Linked DNA regions of Homo sapiens: region 2 is linked to region 1. The links are contacts of gene promoters, found by promoter capture Hi-C in human tissues and cell types (Jung and others, 2019). All regions are on one chromosome and are shown on one strand. The core of a region is centred on a gene start or on the middle of the fragment in contact, and the rest is flanking DNA. Distances in the headings are between cores, read along the strand shown. Region 1 holds the start of ZSCAN29 (zinc finger and SCAN domain containing 29). Region 2 overlaps TP53BP1 (tumor protein p53 binding protein 1).

Region 1 (5,056 bases), core at 196-2,695:
AAGATCTAGGTCTTCCAGGCTCTCTTTCTAAATCTTCCACGAGAGTCACTGCCTCCTCTCCATTTTCTGGACATTGTTCCTGTACCCAATTCTGGATCTCCCCAGGTAAGACGGTCAGGAACTGCTCTAGCACCAACAGTTCTACAATCTGCTCCTTGGTGCGCACCTCCGGCCTTAGCCACCGACAGCAAAGTTCCCAGAGTTGGCTGAAAGCCTCCCGCGGCCCAGCCACCTCCTGGTAATGGAATCTCCTGAAACGCTGTCGGAAGGTCTCAGAGTTAGTGCCATTCTCTCTTAGAGCTGATTTGGCCATCATTAATAGCAGAATGCAGCTTCCCTTCGCTTAGGAGTCTGGGTTCCAGGGCTTACATCTATCTTCCCATGTCCTTGGAGAATCCCCTGCAGATGACTGTAAGAGGTGTTTCTTCCTAGGGCAGAGAAAGATGGCACTATCAGAAGGAATACATTCATATGTCTAAAGTCTTGCCAGAGCTGGCCTGCCTTTCCATGTGCTCCGAGTGGCCTTCTAAGGTAGCACAATCTTCAGTAAATAGACTTTGCAAAAACTGCTTTTCTGGTTGACTTCCAGGGCAGCCCCAGGAAGCAGCAGAGAATAAAAGTACTGTCTGCCCCTCTCCCACCTCCTCCAAATCCGATCCCATTTAACTTCCCTGGCCAATGTTGCACAGTGAGTCCGAACCATATAGGAGAGCTGGAGTTCGAGAGGATCTAAAGACAAGTCACCATCCTGCTTGAAGGCAACAAAAAGCCTCTGTCCAGCTGGTCGCAGCTGATCTCCCCCAGTATCTCCGCAGTCCTTCCCGAGGCCTTCTGCGTCCGCCCCGCCCCCTCGGGCTGCACAACTCCCAAAGCCCACCCCAGGCAAAAATCACGTCCAGAATCTCGGGTCTTTGTTTTCCCCGCGTAGTAGTAGCCGCTCAGCAAGGATTAGGGAGCTACCTGTCGGAAAACCTCGCGCAAGGAGAGAAGCTGGTTTTGGCTCCAAAGCGAGGACCATGGGGGCTTGGGGAGAGTCACATTGGGCAGGAGAGACGGAATCCGAGGAGCAGTAGTAACGGGCTTCCTGAGGACGGGCTCGGGTGTCGGCCAGAGGCTCCAGGTGCTGCCGGTTCGCGGACGCAGAGCTCTCAGCCCAAGGAGCAGCGGCTGCGGGATTCTGGCCTCTTTTGTCTCCGCTCCCTCCGGCCGGGTAACCCGGAGCCGTCGTGCGGTCCCTCCAGAGGCCTCTGACCCGGCTAAGGCGCCCTGAGGGCGCCCTCCAGCCCACCCCTGGGAGCGTCTCCCTCTCGAGCTGCCCCTCAACCCCCTCGCATCCTTGCCTCCGGGCCAGCCTCACCCACTCGGGGTCCGACCCTGACCCCGGCCCCGGCCCCGGCCCCGGCCCCGGCTCTCCAGCCTCCCAAGTACAGCTCCCAAACCGGAAGTCCGAGCGGGCGGCTCGGGGCACCGAGGGCGCATGCGCGAGGGCAGCGACCGCGACTCAGTCTCCGCAGAGCCCGGGCGGGAGTAGCTGGTGGACCCCGTTGAGCTGCCGAACTTCCGGGACTCCCCCGCGACCCCTTCCCAGCTTCCCGTCCGCTCCGCCGCAGCGATTGTCTCGGTGGGTTGATTCGGCACAAACCGCCCGACCCAGGGGCCGGTGCGCGTGTGGAAGGGGAAGCACTCCCCTCGTGGTCGCCTGGAGGTGCGCTGGAGGAGGGGGTGACATAACCAGGGACTCGAGGTCCGCCGTGGGAATGATCCACGAACTGCTCTTGGCTCTGAGCGGGTACCCTGGGTCCATTTTCACCTGGAACAAGCGGAGTGGCCTGCAGGTACTGTCCGGCGCAGAGCGCGGGAACCAGGGAGCGCAGGAGGGGGGACCTGAGCCAGCGCCTGGGGGAGTAGGCTGAGGGACCTAGCGAGCGGGGCTTCCAGGGCTGGGGGCGTATCCCTGGACAGGTGACTGGAGGGCAGCCCCTTAGGGTCAAGGCTGATGCGACACCTAGAGAGGCCGGGCCTAGGCTAGAAAACGGAGGGCAGACCTCGAAGAGCCCCACCTGTGGCGGGGCGAGGAAAGGGCCTGAGGTCCAGGTGTCTGACAGTTGCTGGGGAATGATATAGAAGTGTGGGAGGCACTTTCTCCTATTTATTTTCACACGTGCATTGTTTGAGTTTTGAAGTACTGGGCCAAATACACAGCTCCCAAACACATGGTAAGCGCTCAGTAAAGTTTGTTGAAGGAAATAAATGAAATCGAGAGCGTGTGGTGTTTCCCTCATTACTCCTTTACCAGAAAATTTCTGCACTAGGTAAAGCACTTGGTAGGGGGCCTTTGTGTAACCAGGAATGTATGATGTTCCGTATGCATTATCTTATTTAATCCTCACAACCACCTTATCCATTTTACAGATTAAGCTAGGTTTAGAATAGTTAAATAACTATCGGGGTCATAGCTAGTAATTAACAGAGCTTAGTTTTGAAGCCAGGTCTGTCTGGCTTCAGTATTTGAACTACTTTTACCTGCTTCTGCTTCCAGTAATGTTATCTAATGCTCTCAATAATTTAGTCCACTTAGGTATTGTTTCTACCAGTTAACAAATGAGCAAACTGAAGCTCAGAAAACTTTATGCTGGCCAGTCCTAGTAGTGGCAAGACTGAAATCTAGGTCCGTCTGATCACCAAGACATGCCGATTCTTAGGAGACTGTGGAAGAGCAGAAAAAGTACATTCTTAGTCTATAAAACCTATAAATCAAACAGTTTCCTTTCGTTATTATTTATGAACATGTATTTGGAGTTTGGGAGTTTAGGTGAATTTTTGAAAAAAACAGGTGAAGATTTGTGTGGTGGAGTTTGAATTGTTATCTTTCACCTGTAGGTCTTTGAAGACTAATTCGATGTTTCACTTTTCTCCATAGATCTTAGTACAATGCCAGGCATATAGGAGGACAGTATTTAGGAAGTATGTGGGTGCCTGATGGTCCAAAATAAGAAGAGATAACACAGTACAGGAAAGATAGCTAGGGAGGGGGTGGGGGAGACAACCACAAGTAATTCATCTTTTCCCTTCCTTTCTTTCTTATGAAAAATTCTCAATCATGTATTTTCTACCATTTCATCCTCAAGGTCTCAGCTTTAAAGTCACTTTGTCAGAAAAACTTTCTCTGAGCACATCTTTAAGCATCCTCCCCTGATGCCATTATTCTCCATCAACTTGTTTATTTCCCTTGTAGGATTTGTCACAATTCATAATGTATTGTTGTTACCTGTTTTTAGCCTTTCTCCCGCATAGATTGCCCCTGGGAGCGAAGACCAGTGGTCTTCTTCATTCATCTACCCAGAGCACCTAGCACAGTTTCTGCCACATAGCAGGTGTTTAGGTATTGATGGAAGAAAAGAAGACAAAGATGGCAAATATTACATAATTTCTGCAGAGCAGTGTCTTTTACATTTGAGTAAAGGGAAAAGTTGTCATGAGTGCCAAGTGTTAATGAAAATTATTTTATTATATTGAATATGTATATACATAAGCTAGGTATAAACTCAAGCATAATACTCTTAAACAACTATAAAATCAAATATTTTTATAAATTAAAAGTAAACAAAACTACCAAATCAATAAGTTCAAATGACCATTATTCTAATGCAGGATTTCTCAGCCTGTTCCTATAACTGTGTTATATAGAATGGTATCAGTAACTTCGAGTTATTATTTGCTGTTTCAGAATAATTAGATATTGAACTTTTCGAAAACTCTGCCAACAAGAAACGCTCAAATGCCAATTTTAATAGTAGTATCACTTGATAACTGGTAGAGCTGTCTTGTTAATAATATAAAATTGCTTATGTGTATTGAGCACTAGCTATGTGGTTGGGATATGTGCTTTACACATGTATTAACTTATTTAATCCTCACAATTATTTTCTTCAGTTTATAGGTATGAAAACAGGCACAGACAGGTATAGTAACTTGCCTAAGCTTTCAAGCAAGTAAGAGGCAACTCAGGGATTCAAACCCAGGCAGTTGGGCTCCAGAGACCAGGTTCTTTTTTTTTTTTTTTTTTTCCGAGATGGAGTCTCGCTCTGTCGCCCAGGCTGGAGTGCAGTGGTGCAATCTCGGCTCACTGCAAGCTCCACCTCCTGGGTTCACGCCATTCTCCTGCCTCAGCCTCCCGAGCAGCTGGGACTACAGGCGCCTGCCGCCACACCCGGCTAATTTTTTTGTAGTTTTTTTAGTAAAGATGGGGTTTCACCGTGTTAGCCAGGATGGTCTCGATCTCCTGACCTCGTGATCCGCCCACCTCGGCCTCCCAAAGTGCTGGGATTACAGGCGTGAGCCACTGCGCCCGGCAAGAGACCAGGTTCTTAAGCACCGTGTTGTGCAACCTCTTAAGTTACTAACTTGAAGATGTGATTAGCATTGTGTCATTAAAATCTACATTAATTGGATTCCTAATCAATTTTCTATGGACTTGGTAACAGAAAAATTCTTCTTCGCCTATTTGTTACCACATTTACTGTCATATAAAATGGCATCCACATATAATCCATATTATATATCCATCCATATAATATGCTAAGTTCCTTTGGAGCAGTAATTGTATCTGATTTTGTTCACTCTTTTATCTCAAAGTATTAGCACAGTACCTGGGATATAGTAATGGAAATGTAAAATGGTACAGCCATTGTGGAAAATGGTATGGCAGTTCTTCAAAAAATTAAATAAAGGCCAGGCACAGCGGCTGACACTTGTGATCTCAGCACTTTGGGAGGGTGAGGCTGGAGGATCAGTTAATGCCAGGAGTTTGAGGCTAGCCTGCGCAACAGAGCAAGACTCCATCTCTACAAAAAAAAAATTTTTAATTAGCTGGGCATGGTGACACATGCCTGTAGTCCTAGCTACTCTGGTGGCTGAGGTGGGAGAATTGGTTGAACCTAGGGGTTCAAGGTTACAGTGAGCTATGAACCCACCACTGTATTCCAGTCTGGGTGACAGAGTGAAACCTTGTCTCTAAAAAAAAAAATTAAATATAAAATTCCCATACAATCTAGCA
Region 2 (5,384 bases), core at 1,527-4,026, 100 kb after region 1:
CATTAATTTCCTATATACTTAACAAACTTTCTACAATAAATATTGACTGTTTACAATCAGGGAGAAAGCTTTTTTTTTTTTGAGACAGGGTCTCGCTCTGTTGTCCAGGCTGCGACGCAGTGGTGCCACCTTGGCTCACTGCAACCTCCGCCTCCCAGGTTCAAGTGATTCTCCTGCCTCAGCCTCCTGAGTAGCTGGGATTACAGGCACCCGCCACCACACCCAGTTAATTTTTTATATTTTTAGTAGAGATGGGGTTTCACCATGGTGGCCAGGCTGGTCTCAAACTCCTGACCTCAGGTGATCTGCCCACCTTGGCCTCCCAAAGTATTGGGATTACAGGTGTGAGACACCGTGCCCAGCCTGAGAAAGTATATTTAATATAATTATTTTTATATTTTTTCAATGTTCACACTACAGATAAAAGATAAAAGAAACTGTTTTAAGAATTAACCAAACTTCACTTGTATTACCTGGGTTTTTGTAGAATTAATTCACCTAATCATGTTATACTTAGATTGATATCAGTCACTAATCATGTTATGCTTAGATTGATATTAGTCAATTTGGATACCTACAACTGATTTTAAGAGAAACAGCCAGAGACAAACTTTGTAGCAGAAGAAAGCCTAAGATCAAATTCTATCACTGATAAATTACATTTGAAAAACTGTTAAATGTCTATGTTTTATGTTACTCAAGAGCAGAGAAAGGATATAATAGGAGGCATATACATGACAGATGAAGGCACAGGCTCTGGAGGCAGCTGCCTGAGTTCAAATTCTGCTTCTACATCTCATTAGTTGAAAAATCTCTCTATGCCTCCATTTCCTCATCTGTAAAATGGGGATAAAAATAACACCTCCTTCTTAGGATGTTTGTGAGGATTCAATGAGAAAAACCACAGAAATGCCCTTAGAACAATGCCTTGCCTATACTAAGTGCTCAATAAATAAAACTATTATACCATTACTTGTATATGAAAGAGTGAAAAGATGAAAATCATAGAATTTATTAGAAAAAGCTTTGTAGAAATCGTAAGAACTTAGAAACATCTTGAATGACTGGATAGGAGACTAGGTCAGAGCAAAAGAAGCTTAAATAATGAGATAAATTAGGTAAGTGAAAAGGAAAGCTTTCTTGTGAATAAAGTAATATAAAATCTCTAAGTCGTCAAAGGAGTAAATGAATGAAGTTAAAATTTTTACCACCTACTCTTAACCATTCTTATGCTAAAACTATTTTAATAGCAAAAATAACCTATAAGGACCACAAGAAACAATTGCTGGTTCCTTCTCACCAGAAATGTGTTCACGTGTTGCTAGAAACAAGTAGGCCATTATTAATAAGTCCAGTTCTTCCCCATACTAATTCATTTCAGTTCAACTTTAAAAACAAAAATTTTTCCTTCAGAGCCTTTTTAAAAATTGAGCCAATACAGAAATCTCAATAGAATTAGTGCTAGAAAAGCAAAGAATGGGGGATGGTGTGTCCAGAATTGGTGGGTTCTTGGTCTCACTGACGTCAAGAATGAAGCCGCGGACCCTCACGGTGAGAGTTACAGCTCTTAAGGTGGCGCGTCTCGAGTCTGTCCCTTCTGATGTTCAGATGTGTTCGGAGTTTCTTCCTTCTGGTGGGTTCGTGGTCTCGCTGGTTCAGGAGTGAAGCTGCAGACCTTCGCGGTGAGTATTACAGCTCTTAAGGCAGCGCGTCTAGAGTTGTTCGTTCCTCCCAGTGGGCTCGTGGTCTCGCTGGCTTTAGGAGTGAAGCTACAGACCTCGCAGTGAGTGTTACAGCTCATAAAAGCAGCGTGGACCCAAAGAGTGAGCAGTAGCAAGATTTATTGCAAAGAGTGAAAGAACAAAGCTTCCACACTGTGGAAGGGGACCCGAGCGGGTTGCCACTGCTGGCTCGGGCAGCCTGCTTTTATTCTCTTATCTAGCCCCACCCACATCCTGCTGATTGGTAGAGCCAGTGGTCTGTGCTGACAGGGGGCTGATTGGTGCATTTACAATCCCTGAGCTAGACACAAAGGTTCTCCACGTCCCCACCAGATTAGCTAGATACAGAGTGTCCACACAAAGGTTCTCCAAGGCCCCACCAGAGTAGCTAGATACAGAGTGTCCATTGGTACATTCACAAACCCTGAGCTAGACACAGGGTGCTGATTGGTGTGTTTACAAACCTTGAGCTAGAAACAGAGTGCCGATTGGTGTATTTACAATCCCTGAGCTAGACATAAAGGTTCTCCACGTCCCACCAGAGCAGCCAGATACAGAGTGTGGATTGGTGCATTCACAAACTCAGAGCTAGACACAGGGTGCTGACTGGTGTGTTTACAAACCCTGAGCTAGATACAGAGTGCCGATTGGTGTATTTACAATCCCTGAGCTAGACATAAAGGTTCTCCACGTCCTCACCAGACTCAGCAGCCCAGCTGGCTTCACCCAGTGGATCTCGCACGGGGGCTGCAGGTGGAGCTGCCTACCAGTCCTGTGCCGTGCTCCTGCACTCCTCAGCCCTTTGGGTGGTCGATGGGACTAGGTGCCGTGGAGCAGGGGGCAGTGCTCATCAGGGAGGCTCAGCCACACAGGAGCCCACGGAGGGGGTGGAAGGCTCAGGCATGGCGGGCTGCAGGTCCCGAGTCCTGCCCCACTGGAAGGCAGCTAAGTAAGGCCCGGCGAGAAATCAAGCGCAGCGCCGGTGGGCTAGCACTGCTGGGGGACCCAGTACACCCTCCATAGCCGCTGGCCCGGGTGCTAAGCCCCTCATTGCCCGGGGGGCCGGCAGGGCCGGCCGGCTGCTCCGAGTGCAGGACCCGCCAAGCCCACACCCACCAGGAACTCCAGCTGGCCCGCAAGCGCCGCGCACAGCCCCGGTTGCTGCTCGCACCTCTCCCTGCACGCCTCCCTGCAAGCTGAGGGAGCGGGCTCCAGCCTTGGCCAGCCCAGAAAGGGGATCCCACAGTGCAGCGGTGGGCTGAAGGGCTCCTCAAGTGCCGCCAAAGTGGGAGCCCAGGCAGAGGAGGCGCCGAGAGCGAGCGAGGGCTGTGAGGACTGCCAGCACGCTGTCACCTCTCAATGGGGTTAGACAAAAAAAAAAAAAAAAAAAGGAAGGAAGGAAAAGCAAAGAACTGAGGACAGCACTTTACAGTAGGTCACATCCCTAAAGGTTAGACAAACATGAGTCCTACCGAATTGTGTAGGTCACAAGCATTCTAAAGTACAAAGAAGTAGTACATTTTGCAAGGCAGAAAAAGTGTTGCTCCTCTTCTAATCTGAGATCAACAGACAGATCAAGAGAGCTCACCTTGTCTCCCTTCTTGCTCTGTGGGACTGCTAGGAACGATAAAAGGAGTAGATCGGAAAGCATCAGGAGAAGGAGCAACAAGATCTGAAGAATTCCTTTATATAAAGAGAGAATCACAGGTTATTTTACCATAGCCACAGTTTTGCATTTCTGTATTTGCTTTTACTTTTTAACAGGAAAAAATATCTAAGGCATTCAGATAAATACTTATCAGCACTTTTCCCCAACAGCAACCTGAGGCTGGTGGAAGAACCAAAAATACTTCAATAACTATTTCCCACACCAGACATTTCTGTTGTAAAATAAGAACTTTTTCAAAAAGAGAGTAAGGGCAAAGTGAATGATCAGACACAAGGACATCATGATTTAAAAGCAAAATGAGCAGTGCTAGGAAATAAATTCATTTGCAGATTTGAGACATAAAAAAAATTATTCCATTTTTTTGCCTAATAATAGTCAGACCATGAACATTTTCATCAGAAAACTAAAACTAAACAAAAAAAACCAACAAGCGAACCTCTTTGCCCTAACATAAAGAAATCCAACTACTGTCAACTTAACAACCTATTCTCCACCCTCTGCTATTAAATGAGAAGAATTGCAAGTAAAACAGAGGAGCAGAATGCTTGTTTTGGATGTGTAACATTTTCTAAATAACTGCGCCTTTTCTTTCTTAGTGAAACGTTTGGGCTACTATTATAAAATTTTCAAATGGGACAACAGATTTATCTGCCTTCAACAGTTCTTCATCCCCAAAGCTCTAATGCATAGGTTCTACCATTTGGTTTCAAAAAGAATTCTAGACTAGCAGATAAGTTTAGCCTCTTTCAGCCTTAGCCTAAGACTCTCAGGCACATACTGCCTTGGCATAAGCTATTTTAGGCTTACTTACGTGGAAAGACTGTCCTGAACAAGGGACCTCTGACCAGAGAGCTGCAGGAGATGCAGAGTGGTGGCAGGAGTGGAAGCCAAAGAACACCCACCTTCCTCCCTTGAAGGAGTAGAGCAACCATCAGAAGATACTGAAAAAAAGAAATTCCAGTTGCACTTCTCAGATTGACACTACTGAGCTGCCAAAAACCATTCAGTACTGCAAAGAGTAATATCCATATTTCCAACATATTTCCATATTTCCAAAAGGGCAGAAATTGTTTTCTAATTATAGTACAACGAATGGACTACTACAATAGCACAAATCTTGAGTGAACATTAACCACCCCCGCAATGGGCTTCTTGAATAAAGAACTGATGAAGAGTTCCTTAGTCCTTTCTGTCATGATCTAAGCTTGGAGATTAAAAGCCAGAATCCTGGATGGGCGCAGTGGCTCACACCTGTAATCCTAGCACTTTGGGAGGCTGAGGCGGGTGGATCATCTGAGGTCAGGAGTTCAAGACTAGCCAGACCAACATGGTGAAACCTCATCTCTACTAAAAATACAAAAATTAGCTGGGCGTGGTGGTATGCGCCTGTAATCCCAGCTACTTGGAAGGCTAAGGCAGGAGCATCACTTGAACCTGCTAGGCAGAGGTTGCAGTGAGCTGAGATTGCACCACTGCACTCCAGCCTGGGCAACAGAGGGAGACTCCGTCTCAAAAAAATAAATAAATAAATAAAATAAAAGCCAGAATCCTTATACTTCTGCTTAGCTGCTCTTCTTTCTTGTGATGCTTCTATTAAAAAACAGCAAATGAGCCTTTTATTCCAACGTCTACCTTAGGTGAAGTCAAGCTCATGCCATGATACAGATGGGAGAAGTCAAAAAAATGCACATGACACTTGATGTTATAAATGCAGCAGTTTTCAAGATTTGGGCCTGCTCAAAGGAGTAAAAGGATTTATGAGCAGCCATTACTGTTTTATACTATGAAGAGTCTCTTGTTGGTCCCTTCCCCTTAGCAATAGATGGAGTATCAACTATATTAATCCCAGTGTAAAAGAATTTCTTAAATAAAACCTTACAACTTTAGTAAGAGACCAACAAAGGTTCCTCGGTGACCCTCTGAATGTCTTGCACAGCAACCTGTATCACAGCATAGCAAAGGAAGATAGCCTTCTTCCCTTCCCGCCTTACAAC

What was found. Contacts are between HindIII fragments. The study calls those that stand out against the background at their distance.
Region 2: a contact is called between a fragment that was not itself captured here and the fragment with the promoter of ZSCAN29 in region 1, in 2 of the 25 tissues and cell types used here (H1 embryonic stem cells and IMR-90 fibroblasts).

The regions. Positions count from the first base shown.
Region 1 is chr15:43,369,598-43,374,653 of GRCh38, forward strand. ZSCAN29 (zinc finger and SCAN domain containing 29) reads right to left here and starts at 1,446. Exons shown (of 6, transcript NM_001372080.1): 1 at 961-1,446; 2 at 1-428. The coding sequence starts at 316. It overlaps TUBGCP4 (tubulin gamma complex component 4), which reads left to right and starts at 1,504. Exons shown (of 18, transcript NM_014444.5): 1 at 1,504-1,835. The coding sequence starts at 1,758. RefSeq lists a silencer at 1,145-1,414 and an enhancer at 1,515-1,634. The HindIII fragment of the contact is 7,589 bases long and covers 1-5,056 here.
Region 2 is chr15:43,471,364-43,476,747 of GRCh38, forward strand. It overlaps TP53BP1 (tumor protein p53 binding protein 1), which reads right to left. Exons shown (of 28, transcript NM_001141980.3): 9 at 4,202-4,331; 10 at 3,310-3,404. Among named protein-coding and RNA genes, the nearest start is that of TP53BP1, 19 kb to the right of the region's middle. The HindIII fragment of the contact is 4,460 bases long and covers 547-5,006 here.